Regions from separate parts of the Homo sapiens genome. Here regions 1, 3 and 4 are each linked to region 2. The links are contacts of gene promoters, found by promoter capture Hi-C in blood cells and fetal thymus (Javierre and others, 2016). All regions are on one chromosome and are shown on one strand. The core of a region is centred on a gene start or on the middle of the fragment in contact, and the rest is flanking DNA. Distances in the headings are between cores, read along the strand shown.

Region 1 (7,770 bases), core at 350-2,849, 210 kb after region 2:
ACACCTGCTGGATTTAAAGAAGTAAACTGCCATATGATGAGAGGCCTATCTGTCCAGGACCTGAGGATGTCCTCTAGGAGGTGACAGCAACCCCCAGCTGAATGGGACCATTTCAACTACTTCAAGGAACCAAATTGTGCTATCTTGAATGAGCTTGGAAAAGCTCTGAGCTTCTGGATAAGAATGCAGTCCTGCCAACACCTGTAAAACCCTGAGCAGAGAATCCAGCTGAGCCATGCCTACACTTCTGACTGTGAAATAATAAGTGTGTTATTTTAAGCTGCTAAGTATGTGGTAATTTGCTATGCAGCAACAGAAAACCAGTATAGTCAGGATTCAAAGCCAGGCTCTATTTAACTCTGGAGTGCATGCTTTTTTTTTTTAGACAAAGTCTCACTCTGACCCCAGGCTGGAGTGCAGTGGTGCAATATCACTCATTGCAACCTCCGCCCCCTGGGTTCAAGCAATTCTCCTGCCTCAGCTTCCTGAGTAGCTGGGACTACAGGTGCCCGCCACCACACCCAGCTAAATTTTTGTATTTTTAGTAGAGACGGGGTTTTGCTTTGTTGGCAGGGCTGTTCTCAAACTCCTGGCCTCAAGTGATCTGCCTGCCTCAGCCTCCCCAAGTGCTGGGATTACAGGAATGAGCCTGGCCAAGTGCATGCTCTTAACCACTACAGCAGATTCTGCAGCAGTTTTGTGAATTCCCAAACATTTTCAATGCTTTAAAGAGTAAAGATATTAATGTAAATCTCTATGTAATAGGAATGGTTATGATATTTTCTTCTTCTAGTGCAGTTTTCAAGTTTTAGAAATGTTTTTTTTACCACATTCTAGTATAGAAACACACTTATTGATATGTTACATTTGAGATGGAGGGAGGGGAGAATACATATTCAATAGAAAACTACTCAAATACAATGTGATAATAGGTTACGTTGTGAAAAATAAGTAGGATGGAAAACATAAGATTTCATTTACCAAAAACACCTTATTAGAATAGACGTGGCTTTTGCAAGAGCTCCAGGGTATGCTATTTACAAATACTTTCCTTCTGACTATTGCGTGAACTACAAAGTCTGTCATGTGGTGCTTCCAAGGAGATGACAACACATTCCCTCTTTTAACAGGGCACAACTAAAAATGTAGTGAATATGAGAAGCCAGTGAATTCTCTGCTGCAGTGAAATAAACTTAAAGAGAATTCCAAAATTCAAACACTGTGGTTGCTTTTTGGAGAGTGTCAGTCTAGAACTAATGGTTCATGTTCCCCCTTCATACAAAAACTACACACGGAGGTGAATTGATGAATAATAATAGCTAACACTTAGCCTATGCAAAGGGTTGACCATGGATTATCCCTTTAGGCCTCATGCTTACCTTATGCGGTAGGTATGATTATCACCATCACTCCTATTTTATAAACAAAGAAACTGGGACTTAAAAAGGTTGAGTAAGTTTCCCAATATTCCACAGCCAGAAAGTGGCATTTCAACTCAGAAGTGGACACCAGAGCTCATTCTCAGTCACTTAGCTATATGACCAAAACTTCTATTGCTTTCCAACTAGATGTTTCTTCCATCCTTCACAGTATCTAGGAATGCTCAATAAATTTTGCTGGTAATGATAAGGAATGAGAGACCGGAACCTGAGGGAGTAGATAAGGCTTCCAAGCCATTCATCACTGTGAGAAGATGGGAGATGTGGAGAGGGCAGAAGTTGACAGAGGATAAGGAAGCAGGCTAAAGGCAGCCCCCACTTATGTGGATGTCAGTCTAAAGGAAGTGAACAGGATTGTACTACTTAGAACTCCAAATATATGTTGACTAACCACGCACAAGCAGATTTAATTCTGGCCCTAAGATCATTTAAAAAAATAATAAAACCCAGTTTTCCAGAGTGTATTTCTCTCTTTTGGAAAAGTTTCTGCTCCACATCTGGAAGTGATTTTCTAACAACACTAATTCCAATGAGTCATCTATGATATTAAGCAATGATTCCATAGGGTGAACCCTGATCATATTTTTCCATTGACTGGCAGCCACCGAGGTCAATGAAAGGCAAAGGCGAACCCAGACATGGAGAACCTCACCCTCCACAGCTCCATCTTGTATTATCAAGGACATGGGTTTTAAGAAGTACAGGAATGCAATCCATCTCCCAGCACTAATGCAAGGCATCTTCTAATATACTCCGTTTCTTTTCACTGGTTATATGCAGAAGATGGATCCAAAGGCTGCTTGAGGGGAAAGCAACCATAAATTAAGCTGGCAGAAGAAACATTATGAGGCCATGTGTAACCATGAGGCAGTTAGAAAAGCAGGGAGTGGGCTTTCTGGACAAAAGAACAGGACAGCCTATGGTACACAGAGTACAGCCAGAGCTCAGGAGCCTTAATGCTGCCAGCAAGAATTTCCCCAAGGAATATTCTAGAAAGCACTGCCAGTCAATCCCTTGCCCTTTCATCCTAATACAGTGGCTCCAACCATCAACTTTAAACCAATATCATATTGGTTTCCTAATATTTAAGATCTCTAGTACTGATGTTTAGAAGTGTAACTTAAGTCCATTTCCCAGTGTCTTCTGACACTTGGATTTCTTTCAAGTTACAAAGAAAGAATGAGTCATGTTCTCTTAGAGACTGAGGAGCCACTTACAAAGGCTATTTTAAATTTTTTGAGTGACAAGGGTATTATTTAGTTCCCAGAAACAATAATTGACTAAATGCCTTCTTCAGGTCTGAAGGAGTTAATGCAACTTCCCAGAGTTATCCTTCTCTCCCAGGTATAATCTGATTTTAAATGGCAGAGGAGTGACAGTGTGTTACAAAAACTGAAATCCCACCTCACAAAACCCTGCCTTAAAAAAATATAAATTAGTGGATGGTTACTTGCATTACAAAATTATGCTTTGCTTTTCCAAAGGATTCCAATAAAGTTCATTCAAAAATCAGATTCCCCAAGTGTATGTGAAATGACGTGATTTGCCCAAATTTGATTTACATATGGGCCACATTGAGGAAACACAGCTGCTCCAAAGTCTGAATTTGGTTAGCAGGTACCTCTTCACCATGATTTTGGTGGTTCACATACTCATTTCATCAGCGCCTTGCCTCCAGGGTCACACAGTGAAGAGCAGACCTTAAAATTTCTTTTCTGTTTTGAGACAGAGTCAAGCTCTGTTGCACAGGCTGGAGTGCAGTGGTTCACTGCAACCTCCACCTCCCAGGTTCAAGCATTTCTCCTGCCTCCACCACCCGAGTAGCTGGGATTACAGGTGTGTGCCACCACGCCTGGCTAATTTTTTTGTATTTTTAGTAGAGATGGGGTTTCGCCATGTTGGCCAGGCTGGTCTCAAACTCCTGACCTCAAGTGATCTGCCCATCTTGGCCTCCAAAAGTGCTGGGATTACAGGCGTGAGCCACCGTGCCCAGCTGACCTTAAAATTTCTGACTCATAATCCCCCACTCTAACAATAAAATTGCTTTGCTTTTACCTGGCACCTTTCATTCAAAGCCTTCGAAGTATTCAATTCTCATTTGCTGTAAGTCTCCATAATTATGCCGAACAAGTCAGCAAGAGAGCTGGGAATGCAAGCTTCCAAATTATCGAGATGGGACAAAAAGTTTTTTTAAAAAAATATTAGGACTACTGACAGGCAGAAAAATTAAAGGTCCACGGAAATGCAAAAGAACTACACTTAGGATATTTTTTGACAAAAAAAAATTTCATAGATCTTACTTTTTTAAATAAACTATTTTTCAGAGCAGTTTTAGGTTCCCAGCAAAATTAAGCAGAAATTATAGAGTTCAGTTCCCATGTGCTCCCTGCCCCAACACAGGCTCAGCCTCCCCTACTATCAACATCAGGCACCAGAGTGGTACATTTGTTACAATTGATGACCCTACAATGACACATCATAACACCCAAAGTCCATAGGATACATTAGGATTCACTCTAGGTGCTGTACATTCTATGGGTTTTGTTTGACAAATATATAATGGCATGTATCCACCACTGCAGTAGTATATGGAGTAGTTTCACTGCCTTAAAAATCCTCTCTGCTTCACTTATTCATCCCTTCATTTGCCCTACTTTTTCAGTTACAAAGAGGAAATATCCAAATCCCAGTTTAAATACAACAAACCATTTCTTTAAGAGATGGGGGTCTCACTATGTCGCCCAGGCTGGACTTGAACTCCTGGGCTCAAGGAATCCTCTCGCCTTGGTCTCCCTAAAGTAGCTGAGACTACAGGCAGAGACCACCAAACGTAACAAATCATTTTTATATATCTTGTAAGAAAAAGAGACATATAGTAGAGAGAAGACAGAAGAACAGAAGGAAGAAAGAAATGAACTCAAGGACATGCATGCTGACAGAAAAAAGAGGCACACAGTAGAGAGGGAAAGAGCCCCTGCCTACCAAGATGCGCATCATAATCTAATTGTTTTAAATGTCAGAGGCAAGACCTTCCATTTCAAAGCTCATAATTCATAAGTAATTCTCCCATCCATTTGTTTTTAAATCCATGAGAAGTATAAAGATTATTTTAAATAAAAGAACAAAGATTCAGCATGTTCAAAATCAGAAAAATCATGACCACAAATCCTTGCAATTTCAATGCAAATTAATTAGCTTTACTTGAAATTTAAGTCCCTCTAGTGATTCATCTTCTTAATGGCAGCAAAAGAGAACTCCAGTATCAACAACCTGAGATACATTTCACACGCAACATAGCAGCTATTTTAATTTACAGTTCAGAAAATTCAGAGTAGGCACTTAGGCCTCCCCAAAATTATAAAGATAATATGAAATATATAGATATATGTGGATGTACAGGCAAATATCTAGTGTAAGACTATATACATATATTCTTCAAAATTTCACTTTAAAGAAAACACATTATAATCAAAGTTCAGGGAATAATACTTAAGAAGATAGGAATTAAATGCAAGTGGGAATTAAAGTCTAATCTCTAGCCCATCCTAATTTTAATGATCTAGCAGACAGAGAATCTGAGATACGCAAAGCACTAGGCAAGGAGCTGCAGGATTATAGGAAAAATTATCTTAATAATAATAGCTAATTATAGAGAGACCATATGTTGTGTGTGCACACACATGCGTGTCACATAAATCTAGAAATCCTGAAAGTATGGTTCTTATCTTGAACTCTACATCTTCTGTTTATAAAAATAATAATGCTCAGAGTAAAATAAATGAATTAATGTTTTTAAAGCAAAAATAAAATTTCCTCATAACATAATCCCACCATCCGAGATAGGCACTCTTTTATTTATTTTATTTTTCTTTTTTTTTAAAACAGGGTCTCACTCTGTCACCCACGCTGGAGTGCAGTGGCGCGATCATAGCTCACTGTAACCCCAAACTCCTGGGTTTAAGCAATCCTCTTGCCTCAGACTCACAAGTAGCTAGGACTACAGGCACACACCACCATGCCCAGCTAATTTTATTATTTTTTTTAAGAGACAGGGGTCTGGCTATGTTGCCCAGCCTCGAACTCCTGGGCTCAAATGATCCTCCCACCTCAGCCTCCTGAGTCACTAGGATTACAGGTGTGAGCCAGTGTGCCCATCTAGCACTCTTAATATTATACACACATATACGCATTATATATAAACATATGTTATCAACATACAACATCCTTTGGGAATGTTGTTTTGAATATAACAATAATACTAATAGCTACGTTTATTCAGTGCTTCTCTATGTGCTAGGCATTGTTCCTCGTGCTTCAATGTCTAATTTTACTCAAACCTTGCAACAAGCCTCTGAGGTCAGTACTATCATTATCTACATTTTACAGATGAAGAAAACGAGGCACAGAGTGATTAGGTAAGTATATTCACATATATCGTATATGCATTATTTTATAAAAATAGGATCATACTTTGCATGCCATTTCATAATGTAAATTTTTTGCCACTGTCAATAAATATAGATGTCAGCCGGGTGCGGTGGCTCACGTCTGTAATCCCAGCACTTTGGGAGGCTGAGGTGCACAGATCATTTGAGGTCAGGAGTTCGAGACCAGCCTGGCCAACATGGCGAAACCCCATCTCTACTAAAAATACAAAAATTAGCTTGGGCATGGTAGTGCACTCCCAGCTACTAGGGAGGCTGAGGTAGGAGAATTGCTTGAACTCAGGGGGAGAAGGATGCAGTGAGCCAAGATCACACAGCTGCACTCCAGCCTGGGCAACAGAGCGAGTGTGAGAGAGGCGGAGAGAGAAAGAAAGAAGAAAAAGGAGGGGAGGGGAGGGGAGGGGAGGAGAGGAGAGGAGGAGGCCGGGTGCAGTGGCTCACGCCTGTAATCCCAGCACTTTGGGAGGCCGAGGCGGGCAGATTACGAGGTCAGGAGATCGAAACCATCCTGGCTAACATGGTGAAACCCCATCTCTACTAAAAATACAAAACAAAATTAGCCGGGCATGGTGGTGGGCGCCTGTAGTCCCAGCTACTCAGGAGGCTGAGGCAGGAGAATGGCGTGAACCCGGGAGGCGGAGCTTGCAGTGAGTCGAGATCATGCCACTGCACTCCAGGCTGGATAACAGACGCAGACTCCATCACAAAAAAAAAAAAAAAAAGAAAAAGAAAAGAAAAGAAAAAAGAAAGAAAGAATGTCATTTTAAGGACTGCACAGTTTTCTGGTGTAAGAATGTATATATATATATATTTGCCCAAATCCTTACTTTTGAACATTTAGGTGAACTTTTTTGGGTTTTTGTTTTTGCTATTATAAACATATTTGCAAGGCCAATTGATGTTCATGTTATTCTTCCAATGTTTACAAATAAGCAAAAGGAGATCCCCCAAAAGTCAAACAGTCTGCCCAAGGTAACACAGATTGTCAGTAGAATTGCTGGGCCCTCTGGCACTGACTACTAAGCAATAGCTTTCTAGTCTCCTACCAGCCCCTTAAGGTATTTACATTCTAATACAATAGAGAAGCTATCAACAACTATCTTAGGAGGCCTAATGAAATCAATCCTCTCTAAAATGAAAGTACTGATATCAATCCTCTCTAAAACCTAAGAACACACAGACTGAAAAAATGCCTCCCCCACAAAAAGATATGCCCCCATCCTCATCCCTGGAACCTGCAAATGATATATGGCCAAAGGGTCTTTACAGACGTGAAATAAATTGGCTGGGTGCAGTGGCTCACATCTATAATCCCAGCACTTTGGGAGGCCAAGGCGGGCGGATCACCTGAGGTCAGGAGTTCGAGACCAACCTGACCAACATGAAGAAACCCCGTCTCTACTAAAAATACAAAATTAGCCAGGCATGGTGGTGCATGCCTGTAATCCCAGCTACTCGGGAGGCTGAGGCAGAAGAATCGCTTGAACTCGAGAGGCGGAGGTTGCGGTAAGCCGAGATTGCACCATTGCACTCCAGCCTGGGCAACAAGAGCGAAACTCCATCTCAAAAAACAAAACAAAATGAAATAAATTAAGGATCTTGAGATGAAGAGCGCATCCGGATTATTGGGGTGGACTCTAAATGCCATCACAAGTATCTTGATAAGAAAGAGGCAGCGGGAGACCTGAAACAGACCAAAGAGGTGGCAATGTGACCACAGAGGCAGAGATTGGAGTGATGCAACCACAAGCCAAGGAATGCTGGTAGCTACCAGAGCTGGAAGAGGCAATAAATGATCCTTTCCTAAAATCTCCTGAAGGAGTGAGGCCTAGTGATACTTATTTCAGACGTCTGGCCTCTAGATCTGTTAGAGAACAAACTTGTTT
Region 2 (7,514 bases), core at 2,737-5,236:
TTTTTTTTTTTTTTGGAGACGGAGTCTCGCTCTGTTACCCAGGCTGGAGTGCGCTGGTGTGATCTTAGCTCACTGCAAACTCTGCCTCCTGGGTTCAAGCGATTCTCCTGCCTCAGCCTTCCGAGTAGTTGGGATTACAGGTGTGCACTGCCACGCCTGGCTAATTTTTGTATTTTTAGTAGAGACTGGGTTTCGCCATGTTGGCCAGGCTGGTCTCGAACTCCTGACCTCAAGTGATCCACCCACCTCGGCCTCCCAAAGTGCTGGGATTACAGGTGTGAACCACTGTGCCTGGCCAGGGTTGCTTTGGTTTTCTGTTGAATTGATATGTGTCCCTGGCCTTTGAGACAGAACAAGTATCCCTTCTACCTGATAAGCTTCCCTTAGGCACCTAATTTCAACCATGTCTTGGGGATTGCACCACTGACTTCAGAAAAGGGAGTAGGAAGGGACCCAAGTATGTCTGTATCTAAACCTCAAATCCCAAGTCTGTACAGTCATCTAGCACAACATCCTATTTAAATTAAGAGTTAACACAATCTACTATTTCATAAGAAGGCATTTTGCTTAGCTTATAGCTTTTGCTCTCGCCTGTCCAATCACAGCAGCTAGCAGAGGCATGCACATTTTGGGAAAAGTTAAGGAAATCACAAGAGTCATATATGAGTCATCTGTCCCTTCCCTTACATCCACTCAGGCATCAACTCCTGTTCGTTTTTTTCTTCCAACATCTTTCTTAGTTACCCCAATCATGCAAATATGCTCTGTTGTGCCCCACCAGGTGGGAAGATACCAGTAAGTCATGGTCCTGGACAGGAAGGGTTCGCAGCACATTTTTCTAGTGGAGACCTGCAACCATAGATTCTTATGTAGCTTCACACTCCAGGGGCTCCCCTACCCAGTGAAGTCTCCCTGCTTGCTTCCTCCTTCTGTGTTATTTTTCCCATGCTGTGCCGGACTCAGAGCTTTCAAGGGCAAATCAAGCTATTCTGCCTGGATTGACTTTACCAATGCACTCTCCTGCCAAGCCAGGTTCCTTCTTGACCACAAAGGAGCACTCTTGCCCTCATTTCTGGGTCTCTGCTCCTGCTATTGCCCCCACCTGGAATAAATTCTCCACCTACTCAAATCCCAGTCATCCAGAAGATCTAGCTCAAGTTTTACCTCTTCCATAACACTACCAACCGTCAGCTTTTTCTCTTTTGAATGCCTATAGTACTAGTTGTTTGGACCACACAGCCCAGCCACTATAAAGCCAGTCTCCAATGTAGTATCATTCGCTTCTTTTTTTGTTTTGAGACAGTCTTGCTCTGTCGCCCAGGCTGAAGTGCAGTGGCCTGATCTTCCCTCACTGCAACCTCTGCCTCCCAGGATCAAATGAGTCTCATGCCTCAGCTTCCTGAGTAGCTGGGATTACAGGCATGTAATCCCACACTCGGCTAATTTTTGTATTTTTAGTAGACGGGGTTTTGCCATGTTGGCCAGGCTCAAACTCCTGGCCTCAAGTGATCCATCTGCCTCAGTCTCCTAAAGTGCTGGGATTACAGGCATGAGCCACTGCACCCGGCCTAATATAGTATCATTAGCTTCTTAACAAATGGCTTGCACATACTTTCGTGGGTCCCAAGCCGTCCTGCCCTGCTACCCTGGGAGGTGTCCAGCTAAGGACTCTCGTCTTTTCTGCTGGGCAGAAGCAATGAGTACAGTGGTTAAGGGCATGGCCTCTGGAATCAGGCTGCCAGGGTTGGAAACCTAGCTCTTCCACTTTGCCAGGTATGCGAATTTGGGCAAGGGTCTTGGTCGCACTGTGCCTCAACTTTTTCGTGTACAAAATGGGACTAATAACAGCACCTACAAGTTATATTATTGGTAAAGATTAAATGAAATAGTACAAGTAAAGCAGCTAGAAAACTGCTGGGCATAAATGCTATATACATGCTAGTTATAATTAAGACATGCCACAATGTGGGCCATTGAGTGGGACAGGTTAAACTAAGCTAGTAATCTAATCACTTTTATAAACACTCTGAGGATTAGAGCTGGAGGAGCTCTTAGAATTTATGCAGTTCAACCTCCTCATTTCACAGATGAGAAAACTAACTGCAGCACAAAAGAGAGGAAATGACCAGCCCAGAGTCCCACAGGTGGTAAATATCAGAACCACTAAAACTCAAGTCTCACTGGAAACATCTAATTTTTTCCCACCATACCTCAATGCAATTCTATCAATACTTTTAATGGGGAAAGAAGTTTGTTTTCTAAATAAGCAAGCTAACGACAAACCATTGTGACAGGACTGATGAAGTTGGGAGTTGCCAGTATTCTCTAGATGGCCAGCTGTTGTTTCAGGTGTGTGTGGGAGTGAGTCTGTAGGAGGGAGGGTGCTGGAGTGGCACTGTGAAAATCAGGAGACTAATGAGACGGGTAACTTTAGACAAGTTCCTTCCCTTCTCTGGACTGCAATGTCCCCATATGATTACGGAAATCAGGTGTACCCAACTAAACTAGAGGCCCTTTTGGGGCAAGAATTTTGCTATACACTCTCAGGTTCTAAGTCAACCTAGAGGGCCTGACTCAGTACTAAATAAGGCAGACACCTGAATAATTATTGACTGACAAGCTTCAAGTCTCCCTCAGGTCTCTACTCAAATGCCACCTTTCAGCAACATTTGTTTTCTTCTCGATCCACCCTTTTTACAATGGCAAACCCCTTCCCACCTGCTCTGTTTTTCTCTACTTAACACCCTCAGACATATCATATATTTTACCCCCACCCCCCGATATGTCTGAGGGCAGGCACCTCATCTGTTTTGCTCACTGCTGCATCCTCAGCCCCTAAACACTGCCTGGCAGCATGTATTTTATTGACTGAATCCATAGAGGGCATTAAGGTTTCCTAATCAACATTTCAACTTGGATTTCAAAGCACATTGGTAAAAATGCAATAAGCATATATAAGTGTTTGTGTCAATGTGATAATAAAACCTATACAGTTTGGGGCTTTCATTGTCACCAAAAACGTCCAGAAGGCCATTCCTTCCAGGAGCTGCTCCTAAGGAAGTCATTAACTCCCAATTTTTCACAACTGCCAGGTTGATTAACTAGAAGTTACCAAACAGGGTGAGGGATATACACAACTCTCTGAAGTATCTTTGCAACTTTTCCATAAATCTACAATTACCCTAAAATATAAGGTTTATTAAAGAGAGTGGGGTGGGGGGAGCATCTGCCGGGATGCTATTCTGGATTTCCCAAAGGATTTCTTCGACGCCAGAGGAGGTCATGAGCGTCACGTCCTTTTTCAACAAGGACTGAGATGTTTAGAGGTTCCCTTCAACTTCCACTCGCAAGAGCCACCCTTAGACAGTGAGGATTGGCGCGGCCTCGGGCAAAGAGCCCCGGCGCGTTCTCAGCTCGCCTGGACTTCGGTCGTGGTCCCCGCCGGCTCTGGCGCCTCATTTCCTCCCGGGCTCACAGGCGACATTCCGGGCGCTGACCCACGGCCCTCTGACGCCGTGGGCATGTTTCGGGCCCCCCGCCCCCGCACGCCTGGACGCCAGCCTCCTGGGCTCTTCCCACTACAAGTCGCAGCCCTCTTACTTCGCTGCCGCCACCTCCGCCGCACCCGGAGTTCGGGAAAACCCCGCAGCTCCCGGGTCCCACCTCGAACCGGCCCCAGTACCGGGCCCCAGAGATCCCGCGCGGGAAGCCGCAGCCGCCGAGCGCGGGGCCTCGCGAGGGCAGCCCCCAGCACCCACCCCAGCTTCGGCCCTCCGCCCGGCGTTGACCTCCGGGGCCTTTCAGCCGTGACCCTCACCGCCCTCAGCCCTCCGGCCGCCCCTCGGGCCCCGAGGGTCGCACTCACCCGTAGGCGCGGCGCCCCCGCCCCCGCCCCCGCCGCCGGCGCAGAGCAGCAGCGCCCACAGCCCGCAGAGCCGCGCCGGCCACTCCATGCAGCCTCTCGCCTCGGAGCCCGGCCGGGCTGGAGCCTTGGCAGTCCCCGCCTCCTTCGCTCCCTCTTCCACTTCCCGGCTCCGCCGCCCTGGAGGCTGGGGGCCGGCGCAGACGGGAAGGGCCGCCCCGCCCACCGGCCTCAGGTAACCTGAGCCGGCGAGAGCGGCCGGAGGAGGCGGGGCGGGGCGCCGGCGGCTCTGGCGGCTCTGGCGGCTCCTACGGCTCCCAAGGCTGGACACCTGGCCCACCCGCAGCTCCCGCGTCCGGTCTCTGACCGAACAAAACTTCTTCCACCACGTCGCCGCCCACTCCGGGCGCTGCCTGGGCCTCCTCCCTCCGCGTGGCGGAGCCGGCGTCGCCGCTGCCAGCACACTTGCGGGGCCTCGGAGGTGCTAGGGGCTGTGCCCTGCTGGACACCAGGACAGAGTCATCTGCGGAAAAGAGCCTTGGCCTGGGAGTCTGGAGACCTGGCTTCCAGCCCTTGACCTCTGAGCCCTTGTTTGCTAGCGCTGACTCCAGGGTTAGTAATACCAGCCCTACTTCACTGGGTGGAGTTGGGGACACTGGCAGTACTGTGCTTTGTGAAAAGGACAAAGGGCATATTTGAAAGCTGGCAATACATAATGTTGATTTTAAAAGGAACATTCCAAACATGAGGGAGGATACCATACGTGCATTTTTTAAAGCACACGACAAACTTTCTACATATTTTTCAAAGGGATGGGAGGTGAATCGGAAGAATACACATTGATACTTGGGCGCCTATGAGGGTCAGTGAGGCTGGGAGGAAGGAAAACAAGAGTCCTTAGGCGTTTCCTGTTGCTGCTGTCAAAAATGACCACAAATTTAGTGATTTAACAGTTTTATTTTATTACAGTTCTGGAGGTCAGAAGTGACACTGAGCTTAAATCAAGGTGTGGGCAGAGATGTATTCCTTCTGGATATTCTAGGGGAGAATCTGTGTCTTTGACTTTTCCAGCTTCTAGAGGCTACCCACATTCCTTGGCTTGTTGCGGAACTACTCAGACCTCTGCTTCCCTTGTCGTATCTGACTCTGACCCTCTTACTTCCCCTTTTCCCTTATAAATACCCTTGTGATTAGATTAGGTCCACCAGATAATTCATAATAATCTCCCCATCTCAAAATCCTTGATTTAATCATAACTGAAAAGTCATTTTTGCTATGTAAGTTAACATATTCACAGGTGTTGGGGATCACGATATGGAATCATGGGAGGGGGACATTATTCTATCACCTTCTCCCAAAAAAGAATCATGTCTAGGTGGATGATGAGACCCATAATGAGGTGTATTTTGGCCGAATTAAGCCAATGCATATACCTGAAAACAGTTACAAAAAGTATAGCAATAAAAATGCTGATAATATACCTAGTCTAGACCCCACCCAAAGGGCACAGGGTTGTTTAACCTATTCACAACAAAGGTTCCACTCTTGGAATTAAGGCTCTCAAACTCAATAAATATTTATGAAATTGTTCCAGGAACTGTTGAAGACACTCACCAAAAGCAAGCTCTGCTAACAGAAAGCTGCAGTCAGTCTGAGGGGCAATGATAAGGGCAAGAACAAGGAATTATGGGATACAAAAAGGGTACCTTTTGGGAGGGAAGGAGCAAGGGAAGCTTCCAGGAGGAGGGCCTGCCTGTGCTGAATCTCAGGATGTTGATTCTTTTGGCTAACGGTTCAGAATAAATTCCAGAATCCAGGCATGGTGGCATGCACCTGTAATCCCAGCTATTCTGGAGGCTGAGGTGGAAGGATCACCTGAGCCCAGGAGTTCAAAACCAGCCTGGGTCTGTAACAGAGTGAGACCCCGTTCTCAAAAAAAAAAAAAATAAATCCTGGCTTGCATGTGTTATCGAACAAAATAATGTTTATGAAAACAGTTTGTAAAGTATCAAGGCCTGTAGAACTGAGAGATAGTATCATTATTTCTAAATCCCTCCCACAAATAGGTCAGCCACTGTGTATCCCAAGGCCTTTCCTCCACCACCACGGACATATACACTTGTTGACATTTGCTATAAACATTATACAATAAGTTTATAATAACGTTTCCAAAATGGTTATGTCATCTGCCTTTTAAGGAGTCTTTAGTTGGAACAGGAGCCCCTGGGGACTGGCTGAGTGCCATCATGGGCACTGCTTGGCATAGATTGACCAAGCGCTTAATAAAACAGTAATGGTAGCAAATGATTAGAAAAATAGGGATTGCAGCTTGTCATGAGCTTCCAGAAAAGCCCTGAGAATCTGAACATCGTGAGGAAAAAAAACAAACGGCAGTGTGGAGAGGGGAGAGACCTGATTTCTTTTCACCAAGATAGTTCCGGCCTGCTGGCCTTAAGACTATATTGTTACTTTCCTTTCTTCCCGACCCTGAACATCATGCAACGATTTTTCAAATTTTTGGAAGGGGGTGGAAAGAGTCAGGAATGCTGTTTCTTCAACATAAAACTTGTATTTGTAATCTCCGTGTAGTGTGATTCGAAGAGCGTCTTGGATTGAATCAGGCCACTGCCCTGGTCTGCAGGAAGAATGAAGACAGATAGAAGGCTTTCCAGGAACTGCAGTAGACAAGGAGCTTTCAGTTTGGCTTTGTGTAAATCAAAATCATGATGAGTCAACATCAAGTTTAACCCTTAGAGTCCTGATGACTTGGGTGCGAGACTACCAGTGGCCTTTCTTTCACTTTGGCCCGGGGTGGCTGGAGTTCTGCGCTGCCCTGTGTACCTAGGCCACTCCACTCAACTGTTTTGACCTTTGCCCTTCTCACTAAGTCTTCGTCCATTTCTGTAACTGGAGGCTGAAAAGGGCATATGCAAGAAAATGTCTGGCAGGAAAGAATGATGTCCCTCTTTCCAAAGTCAGGTGTCCTTCCATCCATTTAGAGACACCTTCCTGAGTCCAAAAGGGACACAGACACCAGCATATTCCAAGGGCTTAGCTAAAAGTGCTGGTCCCTTAGACAAAAATCTCACAAAGAGTCCTCTAAGCAAAACCTCACACCACTGCAAAACAAAGAAAAAGGAGAAGTTGAAAACAGGGAATTTCCCTCCCGATTCTGGATCAGTGGCCCCCAACCAGGGGCAATTTTACATCCCAGGGGACATTCGGCAATATGGAGAGATATTTTTGGTTGTCATGACTGAAGCGGGGGCATGCTTCTGGAATGCAGTGAGTAGAGGCTGGGGATGCTGCTGTTAATACAATGCACACGACCGCCCCCACAACAAAGACTTACTCTACTCAAGATGACAACAGCGCCAAAGGTGAGAGAGATCCTAAGCTAGAATACTCTTTGTTGTCTTTTGTATTTGGTCCCCACCCACCCACTGTCCCCCATGCCTGGCCAAAATTAGAGATGAATGCTAAAAGTATGTACTCTTGACAACTCCCTTTCCTGTATCTCGTACCCCCAGTTCCCCATCCACTGTCTAGTCCTGCAGTCACTGATTAGATGGTAAAACATCTCTCAGATCTATTCCTCCCCCGACCACCCAGTTTCGCCTCTATGGTTCTATTTCAGGACTTTATTACCATT
Region 3 (7,795 bases), core at 1,808-4,307, 190 kb after region 2:
ACACAAAGACGGCACCCACTTCTGCACACCCATGGCTGACCCTGCAGCTGTGTGTACACATGCAACTGACTTCAATGTCTATCATCACTAGTTTTCATTGTCACAGGTGTGCATGCCATAAGCCTCAACCCCCACAGCCATATGAGGTGACCCTGACTTCCACCACTGGCCATCACTACTGTACATGCACCCACAGCTGTCATGCATGCACACCACCAGCCCTTGACCCCTGCAACTGCGGGGGAGCGGGGGGCGGAAAGAAAAAGAAAGAAATATACCAAGATTCTCATGTGCATGGTACTGAACTGGGAATGGGATCCCACTATTTACCTTCCTATCATTTTTTTTCCTTCATTGAACTTACCACAATCTGATATACCATCTATTTCACCTCTCTGACTATTTGAGGGCAGGGATTTTCTTTTATTTGTTTACTTCTTTAATCCCAGCACTTAGAATACCTGGCACACGGTAGACATCCAGTCATTAATTGCTGATGAACTTTGAGATATTCAGATTCAACCAGAGCCATGTCTCAACACTCTATTCTAAACCAAGGTGGGCAGACAGTAGTAATTTTTAATGATGATGTTTCATATGAAATTATTTCCTTAAAATTTTATAATAAAAACTGTATAAAAACCCCAAATATAATTTATATTAAGACTTAATATTATAATAGCATCGGGATTATACTTGTATTTTTGTACATAGTATTTGAGGTAGTCTCTAGTATCACTACATCCATAGAAAAGTTGAGAATAGTTTTTATACATGGTTCACAACAGGTCACAGCTATACCCAATTTCCATATCGGAAGGGCATCTCAGAGTTTCCTGTAGAAGATTATTTAGAAAGATTAAAGTAAACTACTCTGACCAATGAGCTCAGTGTTCAACAAATCTAAAAGATCCTAACCTTTATGCTTTATTTCAAGTCTTAAATTTGGATTTGTAGACCCATGTCTACAAAGATCAAAGCAAGTTGATCATCCCTCTCATGTCTGCAAATACTACTGCAAAATGAGTTGAAATAAAAGGAAAAAATCCTATTTGAGAAATTCAGATTTTCTGACAGAAAAATCTGACCCCTTTCGGCCATATCTACCGTGTTTCCATGGACTCAAAAGGAAACTGACTGCATCTTCCAGCTCTAACGCTCACAGTCTGAGATCAATTTCTCAGAGAAGTTGAATGAATAAGTCCTATCTAAGAAAGCAAGCTTGAGGCACTAAAAATAATCTAAGTCTTGCTTTTGGTGCCAACTATTTTCCTAGTACAGATTGCAAAAACAGTCCTCAAATTTCAATGTTTTAACCTGTTGAATCTGTCAACTTCTCTGTACAATAATTTTACAAGTACCTACTTCAAGTATATTTGAAAAAGAAAAAAAAGAAAATCCTCCTTCAGCTTTCTTTTTTCTTTTCTTTTCCTTTTTTTTTTTTTTTTTTTTTTTTTGAGATGGAGTTTTGCTCTTGTTGCCCAGGCTGGAGTGCAATGGCGTGATCTCAGCTCACTGCAACCTCCACCTCCTGGGTTCAAGCGATTCTCCTGCCTCAGCCTCCCGAGTAGGTGGGATTACAGGTGCCTGCCACCACACCCAGCTAATCTTTGTATTTTTAGTAGAGACAGGGTTTCACCATGTTGGCCAGGCTGGTCTCGAACTCCTGAGCTCAGGTGATCCCCCCGCCTTGACCTCCCAAAGTACTGGAATTACAGGCATGAGCCACCATGCCTGGCCCTCCTTCAGCTTTCTAATGTAGCTCCAAATTAATATGGAAAGAATATGTCAAAATGAATCACTTATTTTTTTAATTTATGGGGTACAAAGTGGTGTTATGATTTTTAATACAATGTAGAATGATGAAATTAAGCTAGTTATATCTATCACCTCAAATATTTAACATTTCTTGTGATGAGAACATGAGAAATTTATTCTTAGTGATAAGATGTACAGTACTCAATTATTAGGCATATTCAGCATGCTATACTATTGATCTCAAAAAAACCAAACTTATTCTTCCTGTTTAACTGAGACTTTGTATCCCACCATTGACTACCATCTCCCCCACTTTGCCCCCAGCCCCTGGTAACCACCATTCTACCCTGCTTCTATGAGTTTGATTGTTTTAGATTTCACATATAAGTGAGATCATGCAGTATTTGTCTTTCTTTGCCTGACATACTTCACTTAGCGTAATGTTCTCCAATTCCTGAATTACTCATTTATTTAAAAGTATATACCTTCTAAAAATGAAACACAGCTTACCACATGTTTTGAAGGACATATATTTATGTTATAGAAAACAAAGTTTCACTTTTCATTTAAAACTGATTAAACTAAGCATTCTGGGTCTTCACGCCTACTTTTTTTGTCAGGGGTAGCTCAATTGCGGAAAAGTTAGGGTGGCTACTCTGGGTCCCACAAAGCTTCCCCTAATAGAAGATTTAGGCCTGTGAATCAGGATTCATCTCTCCAAGAAGAAAGATGAGAAGGGACTGAACCCTGCATTTCCCTTCTAGTAGGATTCAGTTATAACTCTGCAGGCATCAGAGACAAAGAAAACCTTTTGACCTATAGAATTATCATGATTTAATGGTGGTTCTGCCCTGCAGTCTCCATCATATCCCTTATCTAACTTTCTCATTCAGCTTTCTCATTCTATTATTAGACTTATACATAAAAGCTTCCAATACACTCAAAGAGGGTCTTTCTTTCAGCTTTGTAATTTATCCTTTCTGCCAGTGTGCACTGATTGGCCTGCAAAGGTGCTTTTTCATAACTCCAAAAACCCGTTACAATAAATGGTACCTTAAACATTCAAATAATAGCAACTTCCATACAGTTCCGGAGCAGTGCTAAGTAAAAGGCGAAGGCATTTATGCAATCTGGAGAGAAGTGAGCATATGTTTCAGTCTTCTTCCCGTAAGTAGTGACAGGAAAACCGTCAACCTAAATTTGGAACCAACTCAGTTTTCACCATGGGGAAAACAAAACAAAACAAAATGATTTGTTCTTAAAAGTTTTCATTCACTGACTCCTAAGTTTTCTTGAATAACTTGCTAATAATATTAGTATTTTTTGTTAATTCATTTCAAGGTCACTTTGCAGTCTTAAGAAAACACTTTCATATGCATTCTGTTTGTTACCAAACGCTTTGTCAAGTAGACAAGGAAAATACCATCATTTCAACTTTATCCATCAGGAAACTGGCTCAGAGGCCTAAGTTCATCTGTCTACATTAGGAGCTGAACCAGGATTCAAACCCAGGTCTCCCAACTCCTAATCCTTGTTTCTATTAGTTTCCCGAACTTATTCACATATAATCCTCATATTTGCCACACCATCTGTATTATCATTTACTTCATATTTTTCTTCAAATCAAATATCTTCTTCATTGAAAACATTTATTGAAAAAGAAAGCTTCATATCATCCCATAAAGGAGAATAAATTGCATTTTTCTATCTCTAGTAAAATAAAAATGCCAATTTTGGTACCATGGTGTGGGATGCAGTACACTTTTCCGTTGCTTACTCAGGCCACTAAGGACCAAATCTCAATGAGCTTTCTATGTGCAAACTCTACAAATGGGAAGAAATGCACAGCTCCATAAATTGAGATAATTTTATTTCTAATATAAGTGGAAAGGACAGATAGCAAAAAAGGAAACTCGTCAGAATAGATTCAGTTGCAGTCCACTTCTTGGTCCAAAGAGAGGAAACAATGGATCCTCACTGAGGGTCACTAATAGCATCACCACTTAGACTTTACAATTTTGTGGTGGTTCCTGTACATTCGCAGTACAGGATGACTGATCTTTTATCATCGTAACTGTATGTGTATAAATATAAAACCATGCTTGTAATACTAAAATACATAAAAATGTACATGAATGTATATATTCAACCATCCAACCACTCATGTATCCAAAAGCACATTTGACTAGCAGGCATATTTATGTTATCATTAGAAATGTGTAAGACACAAGAATAATCACATAATATTTATCTGTAAGCAATGCAAAATGAGCCTGGGTTACTTCTGCTTAAATACCATACCAAAGGTCATTAGTTTACCGGTAAATCTTTTACTTTAGAAACTAGTTCTCCTTAAGAATTCTAAGAATGTCTCTTCTGCAAGTCTGAAGTGAACACTGGCATCATAGAATCTCTCCTTTATCACACTGGGAGGGATACCAGAAAGCAGGCAGAAAGCTGAGCAGTAGGGCACAGAGCCAATTCAAAAACATCCCTGCACCACCACGCCACCACTACCACCACCCCATCCTCCAAACTGAGTTTCAGCACAAGGAGGAACATGGCAACTACTGGTTTCAGAAAGAGAATGATTAGCCCAAAAGTGCTTTTTTGCAGTATTGCAGTCAGACTACAGCCTCAATGACATCTGAGCATTTTCTTATGAAAAATAACAACAGTCTTGGGATAGAAGTAGCACACTCAAAAAGAGGTGAGTCTCTCCTTCCCATCATTTCTCCACGACCTTCACTTAGGAATTTCTCCAGATCCCCTAGTCATTCGGCTCTCCTTTCCTCTCAGACATTTGTAAGCAGAGCCTAGAGTGCTTTCTCTAGAGAGCATCTTAAAATAACACTTTGCACTCAAAATGGCCACTGGGGGCATGCAATTTCCGGCAGCACAGAAAACAAAGTGAGTTCAGCATAAAGATGCATTTATTGAGTTCCTACTGAGGTTCTGGCCCTGTGCTAGCCCCTGGTAATGCAGAGGTGAATAAAAAAACAGACCTTGCCCTTGAGAAGTTCACAGTCTCGTGGGGAAGGTAGATAAACCCAAGATGTGAGAGCTGATCACAGACTATTGTAATTTCTGTGCATCTATCATGCCCTTTGATAGCCATATCTTCTTCCAAAAAAGGAACTGTACAAGTGTGTTTGCACACTAAAATGTGTGAGTCCCTCTATTCCCCATTAGATCAATCAGAAGAATTTCATCATATCGATTTATGTGGTCTCAGATCATTTCATCTTGCCTTCTAGTTTTATTCATAAACCCTGTAAGATCAGAGACTAGGTAACTGTCAAGAGTGGTGTGTGAATATGAGGAGAAGCAAAAGTTGCATTATGATTCACAGAAGTGAGAGATGCCACCACTGTAGATTAGAGACTTCTAGAGAGGAACCCTATACAGCATGTCAATAATGGAACCATAACTGTAAGGATTTTTTTTTTTTTGAGACAAGGTCTTACTCTGTCGCCCAGGATGGAGTGTAGTAGTTTGATCACAGCTCACTGCAGCCTCAACCTCCCTGGGCTCAGGCAATCCTCCCACCTCAGCCTCCCAAGTAGCTGGGACTACACATGTGTGCCACCACATCAGGCTAATTTTTGTATTTTTTATAGAGACGGGGTTTTGCCGTGTTGCCCAGGCTGGTCTCAAACTCCTGAGGTCAAGTGATCCACCCATCAAGCCTCCCAAAGTGCTGGCATGAGCCACTGTGTCCAGCCTGTAAGAAATTTCTTCATAAGGTTCAAATAAAGAGTATTTGACTTTGTTATGACCATGGCCTGTTTGTTCCAAATGTGACCATCTTTCAGCAGCTCATCTCTTTGTCTCTTCCCCAATAGGAACTCCAATTACTGAAGGAGCTTTGCATAACTACAATCTAATGGTGATGTGGTGGGGCGGGAGGGGCATCTTTTTAACTAGCAGAACCCAACTTGCCAAAATAGACATGAACATCTTTTCATAAAGATTATTTTCTGGGGAAAATCTTGGCATAAGAATCTAAATACAAACTGCATTCAGGACACTGACCTTTCTTAAAGTAAACGGCTAAGGGAAAAGTCATACTTTCCATGAGACCAGTGGGTCATGTTTATTACCAACCCACACTTAGCTCACCTGATTCTTATGATAGCATAGCCCTCCTCGCTCCCCAACAGCCCTTATTGTCTTTCCCATCTATTGTGGCATTTACTCATATATAACATTCCCTGGATACTTAACTGCTTTTTGGGTGGTTTACTTAGTCTCCTAGGCAGGATCAAAAACACCGGTTCGGTCAGCAAACAGTGCCTTGTACTTTCTGTTACCACTTACATTAAGCATTGCTGTATACTCGGTTAAGCGTTTTATATCTATGATCTCATCTAATTCTCCCCAAAATCCTGTGAGAGGTTATTTTATTATGCCCATTTTACAGATGAGGAAATTGAGGCTTAGGCAGGTCCAGTGTCACATATTTGTGGAGCTGGGATTCAAATCTTTATCTGATGGACTCCCAAGCCAGTGCTCTTAACCATGATCCACATAAACCTTTATGCGTTGAACTTAACAAAAGCAAATCATTTTCTCAGCTCCTACCACATTTTATTTCCTTGAATGAACTTTGCATTTTAGAATTTTCTAAAACTTACTCAAACTACGCTATCATTCTTACCAAAGTGAGATCTTGCCTTCCTATCGCCCTGATGATGCTGAACATGACTGGCTTAGAGAGCTTGTAATGTAATTGGATAAGGATCTTTGCATTCCTAAGCTGTTGCTTCCAATTTAGCATTTGTCATCAGTGAGTAGGGATTAGCACCTTAGGTCTTTTACTTGGGGGAAAGGAGTTGGCAGATTCAATTTCAAGTGGTTAAGAATCAAATTACAAAAAAAAACAACAGTACGCTATTGTCAAGGGACCATGTCTAATTCACCTCAATATCCTCCACACAACCTAGCAGAGAGCCCTGAGAACTACAAAGCCAGAAGTTTTTGTGTAGGGATAACCAGCTAAATAGTACAAAGAGACTGCTCTTACACGTATGCCTTCCAAGCTAAAATGGCAGCACACAAGGAGAGAAGGACAAGTTGTTGCTGATGCTTTCAGAATTAAATTTTCACTTCCCAGCTTTAATTTAGGAACAACAACTTAATGTTCTAAGAATCAGCACAATATGATTTCGAAGGCCTTTAAATCTAACATAGAAACATTAAGGAAAAATAAAACCCATTTTTTCCCTTAGAGTTTTAGCATAGGGAAGAAATTGTTTTAACTGCCGAATTATTTCCCCTTTCCAAGTCTATTTAACTATTTACAAAAACTCAAGAGCTACTTTTAAAAACTTACAAAGAATTTACTTTAAAAACAATAAGAAACAAACAAGACTATGCACTATATGATTAGTGCACACTCTATTAACAAACATTTTTCATTACAGCCAGTTCAAATATTATGCAAATAACCTTGATTACCTACAAATGGATAAATAGAATTTTCATGAACTTTCTACCCCAAAACTCAATTTAGCCAAAACTTTACTCGACAAACTTGTTGACAGGTAGGAAAGCTGATTTGAATTCAATTCCTCCTGGCTTTTTGTGCTCACTCTGTGCTAATAAGCATTTAAATGACTCAAAAGTAACACAAAAGAGGTTTAAGAAATGAAAAGAAGGGCTTGAATAATTGAGAGACTAGAATGGCAAAGAGCCTTTTTAAAATTAGAATTTTTTTTCTATTCTTTAGTACACCATTATTGACAGAAAGAAAAAGAAATGTGCCTTGGAGATACATAATGACTTTCTAACAAATCAAAGAATTTAACGAGTTCACAAAGACATACACAAATTATTGCAAATAATTCATTCCTGCAAGGAGAAATTAGACTGTGCTCATTCTATGCCTATCAACTATTTTATAACCTGCCTCAGATCTTAGTGCTCACCTTAAACTTGTAACAACAACAACAACAAAAAGACATCTCTGACTTTTTCCTGAGTTTTATAAACAAAACTCTAACATAACTTGCATTCTTAAGCAGAAAAAACTGTA
Region 4 (7,162 bases), core at 253-2,752, 250 kb before region 2:
GCCGACCGGACATCTCCTGCTGGCTACAGCCCAGAGGACCGGGCGCAAGTGCGAGGAGCGCGCGAAGTTCCTCTCCTCGCTGGGAAGGTGCGAGCAGGTGTAAGAGGAGACCAGGAGTGCAGCGGGAGAAGGAGAGTCAGAGGAACAGAGACAGTGACACCGAAAAAGAAAGAAACAGTGACAAAGATACGAAGAGACGGAGAAAAAGAACCAGAAGCAAGGAGACACAGACAGGAACGGGGACTGAGAGACAGGAACACAAAAGCTAACAGAAGTAGCAGGAAAAGACAAAAAGCAACCGAGATCAACACAAACACAGTGAAACACAGATAAGCAGTGAAAACAGAACAAACTCAGAGACCCAGCCCCAGAATCACCCCTCCCCCACCCCGCCACAGTCCATGGGTCCCCCGCCCCCTCTTCTGCCCTGGTCCAAATCCCTTCTCGCTGCGGGGTTTGTTCTCCCGCTCCCTCATGTAGCCACCGAGCCCCAGCCCCGGCCCGGCAGCGCGTTGGACTCACCCAACTTAACTGCCTCGTTGTACTTGAGCAGTGCCGCCTCCACCTGGCGCTCGCGGTACAGTCGGTTGCCCTCGTGCCGGAGTTGCGACGCTCGCGCTGGGCCTGGAAACAACTTGCCGAGGAGGCCGCTGAGCACCACGTTGACTCGCAGCGGCGGCGGCGGCTGCTGCCCAGCCCGCCGGGCTCCACGCGCCCGCCCAGTGGCCACCATCAAGGCGGAGAGCTTGACCCCGCACAGCGCACAGCGCCGGTCGGCGGCCCGCCCACGTTCCAGGCACAGTTTACAAAAGGTGTGGCCACACGACAAGGACACGGGGTCTGATAGAAACCCATGACATTTCCGGCACTTAAAGCCGTCCCACACCTCGGTGGCCGCCGCAGCCGCGGCGGCCCCCGTCTCTTCCGCCGCCACGGTGCCGCTTGCAGTGCTACCCTCGTCCGGGGGCGCCGGCGCCAGCGCCTCGCCTTGCGGGACTTTCTCCGCCAGGCAGCGCACCAGCTGCTCCAGCTGCTCAGCCACCAGCTGCTGCCGCTCGGAGAGCTGTCTATACACCTCGAGGGCTTCACGGATTCGCCCCCGGGACGCCAAGGCGTCTGCCTGCGTGAGCAGGACTTTGCTCTCCGGCGTTGAGGTCCCCGGAGACTGCTCTTGCTCTGGCTCCCGCGTCGGTAGAGGTGCGGGGCCCTCTGCAGCCACCTTTGGGTGGGGGCCCATGTCTACTTGGGCCGCTGATGCCCCTCGCTCCGCCGACTCCAAGTTGTCGCTGCTGACCTCAGCGGGCAAGCTCAGCATCTGTTCGATCCGTACTGACTCCATGGGAAGAGGGACACGGGAGGAGACGAGGCGTCTAGGGACCGGGGACACGAAGCAAGGAGTGGCAGCTGGAGGAAATCGGGGCAGCCACCGCCGCCATGCCACCGAGCTCCTGACCCTGCCGCGCCTCCGGGAGCTCCATGCCGGCCGCCCCGCGCCGCCTAATAACTGTCTTGTCTCAGCAAAGTGTTATATAAAACGGTACCACGTGACGTGCCGCCACGCTGTTCATTGGCCGGCGGCGGGGAAATTGTTACAAAACCAGACAGTTTTGTAACAGTGTTGCTCTTGCTTCTTTGGGCTTCGCTTTTCTTGGCTTCTTTTTGAGGTTGTTTGTGTTTACACTTCGCCTTATTCCTCCTCACCACCTGGTTCTTTTTCGGAAGTGGGGTTGTGGGGTGGGGAGAAACTCAGTGTCTTCTCTTGGGCTTCTCAGTCTCCAAACCCCACTCCATCCCACCTCCAAACGGGCCAGCAAACAGGTCCCCTCTGCCAGCCGCTGACCAGCGGCCCCCCACTCCTCCCAGGAGAGGCTGGTACCTCGAGGTGCACAGTCCGCAGGGTCTTCCGGGACGCCTAAGACTCTCCCTCTTGGGGGAGATGGCTGCTGTCAGGGAAAGGAAGCAGGTTGGGAGGGGTATCCGTGAAGCCCCCCCACACACACACAACCCAGTCCCAGCCCGAGAGCCCTGGGAGCCCCGCCTGGGTTCCTTGCCTTCTCCCAGGAGCCTCCCAAAGGTGGTGAATTCGGTTTCTGAGGGTGCTTGGTGTTCTGTGCCAAGAGTGACTCAGAGCAGCGGGTCCCACCGGCGCAGAAGTTGGGCAGCGCTCGCTGGACAGTGAGGAACTCGCGGAGAAGATGCGCTTGCCGGCTCAGCCCTGGGAGGGAGATGCCCCGCTAACTCCCCTCTTTACCTCTCTACCCCCAACGCCAGAACTAGCGCTGGGGCAGGCGGTAGGCGCCCAGCTGGAGACACACCAGGCCGGCCCCTGGAGCCACTGGCCGGATGGGCGCGGCAGGGATGTACCCGGCCTGCTGGGGTCGGTGGGTACTCTGGGGGCGTGGGAGAGTGGCAGGGGGAAGACGCGAGCTGAGAGCGCTATTCAGGAGAAAGTCCGCGAATCCCGGCACAGCCCAGTGGCAGACCGAATAGCCTCCAGGTTTGTCGCTCCTGAGCGCTGCGCGGGAAGGGTACAACTGGGCACGAGCCTCAGCGCCTGGTTTACAATGGCTAGGGGGCCTCGACGGTGTCCTACACACTTCCTGAAGGCGAGCGGGGTGGCCAACTGCACACTCTTTGTCTGCCTTGAACCCCCACATTTAGGACGGGAACCAAGCTCACAAATGAGCAGACAGAAAACGGTATAGTCGCACTGCTCCAAGCAGGGAGGCAGGGACTAGGCTTGCCGCTGGCTCAGTTGGCCTTCAGAGCCTGCGGGCTCTTGGGCAGTGCCAGGTTGCCGCCCCAGGGGCCTGAAGACCTATTGTTGCCCCCTGCTGCAGCCACCTCTTAGCCAGATGACCTTGGGGAAGTCAAACTTTAGAATCCATCATTTTTGCTTCTGAACAAATGTTAGAGCTGATCTTACTTGGGATTAAGTCATGTTTCAGAGTTGGGTTATGGCAGGCCCCCTCGGGTCTCTGCTTCTCTTTAGGTAGTTAAACCAGTCTTAGATCAACACCAAGGTCCCAGAGAACAGGTACTATGCAGCCAGCTCTAGAGCCTCTTTCTAATAAGACAGGACAGAGGGAGAGGGTCACAGGGCAGAAAGGAAGCATCACATAGGGGAAAAAAGACACACACACGAAAAAAAAAAAAAATGAAGAAGAAGGAGAAGGAGAAGAAGAAATAGAGAAACTCCAGATGTAGTCAGGAAAGCACGAGGGACACATTGGAAAACTTGGCTTGAAGCCTTGGATTTGTCACATATTTGCTATGAAACCTTAGGTAGGTTCTCCAAACCTTAGTTTCTCTTAATCTCCAAGGTTCCCTCCAGCTCTAACCTTGAGTGGCTTTGATCCTAAGACCAAATTTCATGATACTAACTCAGTTACTTAAGTACAAATGACTAGTCCAAATGCTGTGGATGGTGGCTTGAACCGGGGTTGAGGGGATGGGAAATCAATGGAAGATTGTCCATTTAGTCGGGGTCAGACCTGAGCTAGATTTTTTTTTTTTTTTTGAGATGGAGTTTGGCTATTGTTGCCCAGGCTGGAGTGCAATGGAACGATCTCAGCTCACCACAACCTCCGCCTCCCAGGTTCAAGTGATTCTCCTGCCTCAGCCTCCCAAGTAGCTGGGATTACAGGCACGTGCCACCACAGCTGGCTAATTTTTTTGTATTTTTAGTAGAGACGGGGTTTCTCCATGTTGGTCAGGCTGGTCTCGAACTCCTGACCTCAGGTGATCCGCCCGCCTCAGCCTCCCAAAGTGCTGGAATTACAGGTGTGAGCCACCGCGCCTGGCCCCTGAGCTAGATTTTTAAGATGTAGAAGTCGGAGGACTGGCTAAGAGGTGGAGGAGGTGGCCATACCAAGCAGTAGGGGAGAAACTGGAGTTCCTGGTGAGTTGCTATCTAACTGAAGGGAGCTCTTTTCACCTCTCAGTTTCCCCTACTATCAAATGAGGTCCCCAGCACTAATTATCTGCCTGCCCCTTCAGGCATCTGTGAGGAAGGACAGTCGTTGGGGAAGGTAGAGATTCATGAGATAGATAATGATGAAACCATCTTAATTCAAGAGCTTTACCCCTTTGACATATCTAAAATATATATATATATGTCTGTTACCCAAAATTGTTTCCTAGATGCAAATCTGGGATGTGCTTTGCTCCGTGGATGACCTTGACAAGGGAATATCCCCTGGGTTGATTCCCCTCCCTTGCCCTGTTATGGTAGGAAGGCTAAGAGAGGGCCAGGTCAGGTAGAGAGTCACAGTCCTGCAGGCATGGAGAAGAGAAGCTCTCTCCAGGCAGGCCCTCTTGGCTGCCAGTGCAGGAGGTTGACCGTGAACTTGGTCAGGAATGTGAATAGCAGTCTGGATAATGCGAGGTACTCTGGTGTAAATGGCAGTACCAGCTACTCACTGACCAGACTCCACAGGGAGTTTTACATTGTAATCAAGACTGCCTGTAGGACAACACCAAGTGGGTTTCTATTGAATGCTGAAAAACATTATCACAGTGGTTTTCTTTCTTTGTTTGTTTAAGTTAAACAAATATTACCATTACATTGATAGACATTGTTGAACCAATTCAGAAGTCTCCTACTCAGAATTTCCTTCCCTCTGCTCTTACTAATTGGAGCCCCCCTGGAATGAGGGGAAGGGGGAGATTAACACCATCTTTTTCAGGTGCAAATATTCCCTTTGGAGTGTAAGGTTCTTTAAACCTCCATTTATTTTGCTAGGATCACCTTGTGGCTAAGGTTAACCAAGAAGAGAGAGCAAGGATTGAGCTGCCCCTCATTTTCAACTAGTAGTTTTCCAACTGGACTCTCAAGAATCTCTTTGGGGCTCAGAGGAGACAAGCAGACAGGCTTTGACCCTAGCTCCCCTCAAGCAGGGCAGTATTGTATCCATCTGTTTCACATAACTGAGCCTCCAGGTATGATTTCTTTGAAGAAAAGCTGTCCCTTACAATATCAAGTTTGAAAACCATAGCAATTTTCACACATTTTCATATATTTGTTGGGCATCTTCCACATACCAAGGACTGTTCTAGATACTGGAGACACATCAAAGCAGCAGCCGGGTGTGATGGCTCATGCCTGTAATCCCAGCACCTAGGGAGGCTGAGGTGGGTTGATCACGGCGAAACCCCGTCTCTACTAAAAATACAAAAAAAAAAAAAAAATAGCAGGGCATCATGGTGCACGCCTGTAATCCCAGCTACTTGGAAGTCTGAGGCAGGAGAACGGTTTGAAGCCAGGAAGCAGAGGTTGCAGTGAGCCAAGATCACGCCACTGCACTCCAGTCTGGGCGACAGAGTGAGAGACTCTGTCAAAAAAAAAAAAAAAAAAAAGCAGCACATAACTCCCAGGCTCTCCCTCACTTATGATAGTGCATCTTTCCCCACATACACACATCCTTGTACTGGCTTCCCATGTAGGCTAGAAGCTTCAGAGGGCAAGGACTGGTGTCTTATATCTCCTCCAGTGACATAAGCAGGACAGTGCTTGAACAGATCTTACTGAACATGCCAGTGGACATTCTGGCCCTAGGAGTGTGCAGAGGGACAAGAGGAAACAGTTGGAATGCCATGCACTGTGGTCATTCACAAAGCAGAGACTGGGCACACAAACAACAAATGGTTGACAGTCCTGTACTTGGAAAGGCCTGCTGAGCAACTCTGGGACGAAAGAGTCCATTCGAAGCCAGAGACCTGTAGTAAGGTGTAAGCAACCCCGCACACACATACACATGCACACACTCTATGCCTGGAAGCTTGGCCAAAGCACACATTTGTTCTGTATCTGATATTCTCATTTTATAAACTGGGGTGACCCATAAATCTGCAGTCCTTACAGGGGGAAAAAAAGGAACCATGGACATTAATGGTATTGATATGGAAAGCAAGACCGCTCCTTGCTATACAGAGTAGCCAAAACCCACAACTAAAAGAAAGTTTAGCCGGGCATGGTGGCTCACGCCTGTAATCCCAGAACTTTGGGAGGCCGAGGTGGGTGGATCACTTGAGGCCAGGAGTTCAGGACCAACCTGACCAACATGGTGAACCCCCATCTCTACTAAGAATTAAAAAAATAAATTAGCGGGAGTGGTGGCGCGTGCCTGTAATCCCAGCTACTGAGGAGTCTCAGGCAGGAGAATTGCTTGAACCCAGGAAGTGGAGGTTACAGTGAGCCAAGATCGCACCATTGCACTCCAGCCTGGGCGACAAAGCAAGACTCTGTTTCAAAAAAAAAAAAAAAAAAAAAAAAAGGAAAGAAAAGGAAGGAAGGAAGGAAGGAAAGTTAGCTTACACATCAGCTCTGGTTTCACAAATGAGGCCACTGAACACTAGAGAAGGCAAGTGACTTGCCACAGGTCATAATGAATTTGATACAGCCAAATTGGAAGCTAGGGCTCATATCTCTTTGTTTATAAAATTTTTTTTTTCATATGATCAGAAAGCTAAAGAGCACAGAACATCTCCTTCTTTTTTTTTTTTTTTGAGACAGAGTTTCGCTCCTGTTGCTCAGGCTGGAGTGCAATGTCGTGATCTTGGCTCACTGCAAACTGCGCCTACTGGATTCAAGTGATTCTCCTGCCTCAGCCTCCTGAGTAGCTGGGATTACAAGCATGTGCCACCGCGCCCAGCTGATTTTGTATTATTTTAGTAGAGACAAGATTTCTCCATGCTGGTCAGGCTGGTTTCGAACTCCCGTATCTCCTTCTTATTACTTATTGTAAGAAATTATTTCAGATTTCCCACCTACAAGATTTTCATCAGTTCAGCAAATATTTATCGAGCATATACTATGTGCTAATGGAGTTGGCATTTGTAGGGCAATAATAGGATGTGACACAGTCCTTATCCTCTAGTAGCTAACTGAGGAAACAAGAGACAAAGATTTAAAAAATAACAGGCAGTCTGTAAGAAGTGCCAAAATTAAGGGAACAGTGTGTCCACGGAAGCCCTCAAAGGGGACAGACTGCAATGCAGTCTCATGGAAAAGGTGCTTTTAAGCTAGGTTGGAGAGGATTTAAATAGAGAAGTGAGACCATCCTGCGGCTCAATACCAGGGGACTTCCTTTATATTGGGGGATAGGTGGCCCAGGAAAAAGAGAATTCCAAGTAAGCTGGACTGGTCAAGTGCAGTGACAGG

Evidence for each region. Contacts are between HindIII fragments. The CHiCAGO score rates a contact against its expected background, and 5 or more counts as called.
Region 1: a fragment that was not itself captured here is called in contact with the fragment with the promoter of IL13RA1 in region 2 in 2 of 17 cell types (neutrophils and monocytes); the score reaches 6.9 in neutrophils.
Region 3: a contact is called between a fragment that was not itself captured here and the fragment with the promoter of IL13RA1 in region 2, in 4 of 17 cell types (monocytes, naive B cells, neutrophils and 1 more). The highest score is 8.7, in monocytes.
Region 4: the fragment with the promoter of LONRF3 here is called in contact with the fragment with the promoter of IL13RA1 in region 2 in 14 of 17 cell types (monocytes, fetal thymus, total CD4 T cells and 11 more); the score reaches 14.4 in monocytes.

Annotation. Positions count from the first base shown.
Region 1 is chrX:118,514,930-118,522,699 of GRCh38, reverse strand. All of the region lies in intron 1 of DOCK11 (dedicator of cytokinesis 11), which reads right to left. Among named protein-coding and RNA genes, the nearest start is that of DOCK11, 23 kb to the right of the region's middle. The HindIII fragment of the contact is 3,996 bases long and covers 1-3,597 here.
Region 2 is chrX:118,724,078-118,731,591 of GRCh38, reverse strand. IL13RA1 (interleukin 13 receptor subunit alpha 1) reads right to left here and starts at 3,986. Exons shown (of 11, transcript NM_001560.3): 1 at 3,866-3,986. The coding sequence starts at 3,953. RefSeq lists a silencer at 3,948-4,377. The HindIII fragment of the contact is 2,975 bases long and covers 2,623-5,597 here.
Region 3 is chrX:118,533,714-118,541,508 of GRCh38, reverse strand. All of the region lies in intron 1 of DOCK11 (dedicator of cytokinesis 11), which reads right to left. Among named protein-coding and RNA genes, the nearest start is that of DOCK11, 42 kb to the right of the region's middle. RefSeq lists enhancers at 4,530-4,579, 4,980-5,059, 5,290-5,339. The HindIII fragment of the contact is 737 bases long and covers 2,689-3,425 here.
Region 4 is chrX:118,968,958-118,976,119 of GRCh38, reverse strand. LONRF3 (LON peptidase N-terminal domain and ring finger 3) reads right to left here and starts at 1,502. Exons shown (of 11, transcript NM_001031855.3): 1 at 523-1,502. The coding sequence starts at 1,339. The HindIII fragment of the contact is 6,269 bases long and covers 1-5,455 here.